2 separate regions of the Homo sapiens genome follow, and region 1 is linked to region 2. Evidence: promoter capture Hi-C in 16 types of primary human blood cells and fetal thymus (Javierre and others, 2016). All regions are on one chromosome and are shown on one strand. The core of a region is centred on a gene start or on the middle of the fragment in contact, and the rest is flanking DNA. Distances in the headings are between cores, read along the strand shown.

Evidence for each region. The method cuts DNA at HindIII sites, captures the fragments that hold promoters and counts their contacts. A CHiCAGO score of 5 or more calls a contact.
Region 1: the fragment with the promoter of SPATA41 here is called in contact with the fragment with the promoter of TTC23 in region 2 in 3 of 17 cell types (naive CD8 T cells, activated CD4 T cells and fetal thymus); the score reaches 9.0 in naive CD8 T cells.

What each region holds. Positions count from the first base shown.
Region 1 is chr15:100,349,254-100,352,036 of GRCh38, reverse strand. It overlaps SPATA41 (spermatogenesis associated 41), which reads left to right and starts at 1,319. Exons shown (of 2, transcript NR_028139.1): 1 at 1,319-2,783. It overlaps LOC105371021 (a long non-coding RNA gene), which reads right to left and starts at 2,431. Exons shown (of 3, transcript XR_007064777.1): 1 at 2,355-2,431; 2 at 1,092-1,662; 3 at 1-358. RefSeq lists an enhancer at 1,892-2,151. The HindIII fragment of the contact is 2,620 bases long and covers 999-2,783 here.
Region 2 is chr15:99,247,987-99,250,830 of GRCh38, reverse strand. TTC23 (tetratricopeptide repeat domain 23) reads left to right here and starts at 1,250. Exons shown (of 14, transcript NM_001288615.3): 1 at 1,250-1,660. The HindIII fragment of the contact is 13,098 bases long and covers 1-2,844 here.

The DNA.
Region 1 (2,783 bases), core at 70-2,569, 1.1 Mb before region 2:
TTGGGGCAGACTCAAAGGCTGGGGGCTGAAATCATCGGAAGGCCTGACTGAGGGTAGAGGATCTGCTTCCAAAATGACTCACTCACATGACAAATTAGTTGGTTCTGGCAAGTTGGCCTCCTTTCCAAGAAGTGCCTCTCCACACATGTGCTTCTCTGCAGGGTTGCTTGAGTGTCCTCATGACATGGCTGGTGGTTCCCAAAAAAGCAAGTGATCCAAGAGCAACATTCAGGAATAAGTTCAATCCTTTCTATGACCTAGCCTCAGAACTCACAAAGCATCACTCTCAATACGCCCTATTCATCAGAAGCCAGGCAGTAATTCCAGCACACTTTCTAGGCAGAGGAATTAGGTACACCTGTTGAAGGGAAGCAGGTCATAATTAGAGGATATATTTTTGAACCACCACAGAATCTAACTTAGGTTCGTACAAATATATAAACAGCTGTCCAATACCACATATTGAATAGTCTATCATTACTATATCAGTCTGAGCCATGACTATTTGCATTTACTAAGAATGTGTGTTATTACCATTGAAGACCTTCCAGTGGGACAAGATGTGAAAGCAGAAGACAGTGGTATTGATGATCCTGACCCTGTATAGGCCTAGGCTAATGTGTGTTTGTGTCTTAATATTTGACAAAAAGTTTAAAATGTAAAAAATAAACAACTTCAAAAGTAGGAAAAAAGCTTATAGAATAAGGATATGAAGAATGAAAATATTTTTGTATAGCTGTACAATGTGTTTGTGTATTCAAGCTGTTATTAAAAGAGTCAAAAAATTTAAAAATTCTTAAGGTAGAAAAGTTACAGTAAGCTAAAGTGAATATATTATTGAAGGAAAGAAAATTTTTAAAAATAAATTGAGTGTGGGCCTAGTGTACAGGGTTTTAAAGTCTACAGTAGTGTACAGTAATGTCCTAGGCCTTCGTATTTACTCACCACTCACTTACTGACTCACCCAGAGCAACTTTCAGTCCCGTAAGCTCCAAGCTTACGGTAGGTGCCCTAGGCAGGTGCACCAGTTTCAATCTTTCATACCATATTTTTACTGTATCTTTTCTATGTTTAGATACACAAATACTTACCATTGTGTTACAGTTGCCTACAGTGTTCAGTACCACACTGTACAGGTTTGTAGTCTAGAAGCACAGCCTACAGCCTGGGTGTGTAGTAGGCTGTGCTGTTTAGGTTTGGGTAAGTACACTCTATATTGTTTGCACAATGATGCAATTGCCTGACGATGCATTTCTCAGAACGTCTGCTCACTGTTACGCAACGGAGGACTGTGAATTGGGAGTTTATTTTGTTTTTCAGTCTGTACTGGCAGCGAATCATACATAGCTTAGTTTATCAGACAAGCTGCTTTTCTTGAGCAAAGAAAGAACTAGGAGAGAAACGGGGCTTTGGAACCCTGATGCGGCAATGCTGAAAGAGGAGAAATATCCCAAGGAAGGGAAAGGTGTGTTGCAGAACGATGAAAAATAGGCGGCTTCTCACAGCTGTTCTCAGGGGACGAGACGGGGTGGGATGCAGCTCCGCCGGTGCCTAACACTAAGGGCCCTCATCCTGCCGATTCAGTTGTGTCGGGACCGCCAGTGCTGTCTCCTCGTCAGATGCTGCTTCTGGTCTCCCCGCAGAAGATGCCACTGGAGTTGCCTTTTCAAGGATGGGGACATTTGAAGGCCCTGGACGCTCAGCTCTGAGGCTGGCTGGGATCTCACTAGCACCCCCTGGTGGAGGCCGGAGCCAGGCTGACGCGGGAAAGTGGGGCACGGAAGCGCTGCGGATTGGACCGGCGGCAGCTAGGCCGAAACGCCTGTATTTAAAGGGATAGTAACTCGGACTCGTTCTGCAATATCCCCACAAGGGCCTGACTGAGCGAGCGAGCATGGACGGCCGCGGGGCTTTCTGGACAGTGGCCATTCCCAGAGCCAGGCAGGAAGGCCTCGGGAGGCTGGGGCTCCCGTTCCCGGTGAAGCGGACGCCGCCAGCGCCCCAGAACCCAGGAGGAAGCACACAGGCCCCACAGAGAGTGGTTGGCAAGAGTCACTCGGGGATTAGGATGCCGGCCAAATCGCGGAATTTGAGGCTGGAATCCAAGCTCAACAGGAAAGTAGTGAAATACAAATGGGGAAAACAGGGCTCTGGAGCGGGGAGGGAGCTGGTGCCGGCATTTCCCACCAACGCCGGTTTAGGAAGACGGGACCGATGCCGGCCGCCCCCTGCTGGAGGGGATGTGGCATCTCACGGGCTGCCAGGGAGCGGGGTTGGCTACTCCTGCAACCAGCGTGAAGAGGGTCTCAGGGGAGGCTGTGGTGGGATCCCCCACGTGCCCTTGTTCCTCTCACCGTTACCTCTGGATGCCTCGGGGCAAAGGCCTTCTTCCACCTATAGACAGAGTCTACGCAGGGGTCTTGGAACCCGGGCACACCAGTCCCCAGCTAACGAAATCCCCGAGTTGGGGGATTTGAGAGGGTCACGTTTGGCCCAAGAACCCGCAGTCCTCTTTGGTCTTCGGCCCTCTATTTCTAAGCGTGGGCTTCTGGCACGGCGGCTCTGGGCACAGCCCATGCTGCTTTCGGGCTGGGTGGTTTCAACGACGACAACAATTATCACAGTGACGGTGACCTTCACCCCAACAGGACTGCTGTGTGTGAAGCACTCAAGAGGGCCCCTACAACCAACCTGCCAGGAGTCGGCTCCTGAAAACAGGGTCGGAAAAGGTCAGTGCCCATCAGAATCGAGCTGTCGGCAAAAAGCTGGAGAGGTTAGGAGCT
Region 2 (2,844 bases), core at 1-2,500:
AAGATGAGGAGGACGTAACCTAGTCTCTGCCCTTCAAACACCCAAGGTTTATTTTGAGTAAAGATTGCTAAAAAGGTCAGGAACAATTTAGAGAGTTAAATACAATGACACTTCCTAGCCTGACTGAGTAGGCCGTCAATATGTATTTCTTCAAGACGAAAATTATTATGTCAGCGAAATAGCATGAAAGAGGGCTTTATGCTGTTAAAAATACTTGGAAGCATAGTTCGGAAACATTTTTAAAAGACACTTTTTAAAGTGTCTCATTAATATGACAAATTTCCTTCTGAAATGAAGATTTTAAAGTATAATCCTCTACTACAACCGCTGATATTTTTTGTTCTGTGGAAAGCCTGTCTATGAGTTTGCGAGGCTCCTTGTCAAGGAACTTTAACTTTATAATGAAGTAGTTTTTACAGTTGCTGACTTAATTATTCATAGAGACGAATAACCTAGAAAGCAGAGTTATATTAAATAAAAAACATTGGTTTTAAAACAAGGTATGAGTTATAATAAAAATTATCAGTTATCTATTAAATCTGGTCTTCAAGAGCTATTCAGGTATACAGCATGGTTGGTATATGTCATGTATTTCTAAGATAGTTTCGGAATACCTAAGAATTCGTGGCACTCAGAAATTTTTTGCTGGTCTTAAAATGAGGAAATCCACATTTTGTGTAAAAACAAAGATACGGTGTTTAATGGTCAGCCCAAATAATAAGACTTGCTGCTAATATATGAAGAGTTACACCCCCCAAAAAAGAAAAAAGATTAACAGTAGAACAGTTTTTTGAAAACAATGTTAGCCTCTTAGTTTTCATTTCTTTTTTTTAATGGGGAATACTGTTTTTCAGTGATTAATATCTGATATTTGATCATGAAAAATGAATCATGTTAAAATAACCTTCACCTCCTCCCCACATTGACACAAAAGTTACCAAGTGATTATATTTGATAATACTTTATGACCCCACTCTTGAAGTTCTCACAATTTGTAGAGAATCAATTCGCACGTTTTGTCTCTCTTAAAGGGGAAAAAAATCCTCTAAGCTGGTGATTTCACGTTCTTTGACAAACTTCAATATCAACAGGCAACGATACCACTTTAAGAAAATTCCAAGGAAAAGACCTCATTTTAAAATTCCCACCTCTGGCTCCCAAAGATTGGTTTGCAAACTTCGACAAAATACTCTTCTCCACTCGCTATTGGTGAGTGCTCTATCATTCATTCTTTTGCCTGGAGTTTTGTGAGGTACCCGCTTGCTTTATGGGAAAAGGCTGCTCCGGAACTGCCCTACTTTAGACTTTTTCATGGTTATCAATCTGTACAAAGAATCACCAAACTGATAAAGCAGGAACCAGAGGGCAAATCACGCTGCCAAGACAACTGTGTAATTCGCTCGAAAAAGAAACGGTGAGCCTCTCCAGCAGACTGGGTAAACTGGCAAGGGATTTTACGACATAGTTGGAGATTGGAGAGTTACAGAAACTTTTCCGGTTTTTTACAAGTTTTAAAGGAGTGATTGAGTGTCAAAGGAAAAGCAGAGAAAATACAGGCACAATTTAAAGACAGCAGGAAGAAGAGTGTTCAGAGAGCATTTTTCTCTTTAGGGTGAAGTTTGAAAGCATCATGCCCAGATTATCAGTGGATTTTTGAAAGGTAAAGGAGGCAAGATAATAAGATTAACTATAGATCATTTTCTACTTTAAGAAACTGTGCTTCGTTATTGTTGCTTAAGTGTGGATTTAGAAGGACATTTAGTAATATTGTAATTTTTATATGGATATTTTTGTTTATATATTGTCATACCTGGCATAATAGATAATATATCTATTAAAAGATATAGGAGAAAATAGAGTTGCTTGAACCCAAATTTTGTGTATATTTGTGGATTAGGGATTCCAGGGACAGATCTGCTAATGGCTGAACAAAACATACTACAGATACCTGAAGCAGAATCAGCATGTAAGGGTAAATTCTCAAAAAAATCCAGCAATCATATTTCAAAAATGACATTTTTAATTAAAACAAATACAAAAGAATTTATCAAGGAAACGTTGATGAACATGACTATTTCTTAAGTTGCCTGTGTTAATCCATATAGGGGAATATAAAGTAATAAAATCCAGCCCCTCAAGAGCAGGGACAAATGAGGCTCAGAACATTTAAACTAAAACTTCTGAACAGTTCTTAATGCCCGGATGACTGTTGTAGAGCACAGGTGCTTCAGGAGCTCAGCTCAATGTGAGATGAATTATTCAGAGAAGGCTTCACAGTATGGGTAAGACTCAATTTGGGCCTGAGCAATGGGCAGAATTTCAGAGAGAAAAATAAGGGAAGTGGCATCCCTACTAGTGAGTGAGTTGTTAGCAAATACATGCAGCCTGAGGAAGAGTTGGTTCTGACTGCGGCAGAAGGTTCATTTGGAAACTTTGGTTACAAATTTTAAAAAGCAGCATGAGAAATATAAAGAGCCGGAATTCCCAAAATCAGGGGTTTGGGTCCTGTGTTTGGAACAGGAGGCACCCCTTATGAAAGTAATATTTGAAGACAATAAAACTGACAGTGGAATTTAAGATGGCTAGACCAGAGCAGAGACCAGAAGCTAAGGGGCCCCATGCTGTGTAAATACTGGCACACAGGTTAGTAACCATGCTTCTTACCCGAATACATTTACCTTATCATTGTTGAATAATATAAATTTTGATGCACTTCTTTGTAGTCTTCGAAAGCATTGAGTTTACTTCTTTAAGATTTTTGGGGACCGCTGCCACACTGTCTTGGGGAGTCATGGTTGCCCCGTCTTTATAAAAGTCTTGTCATAATATGTATAAAAACCAGAA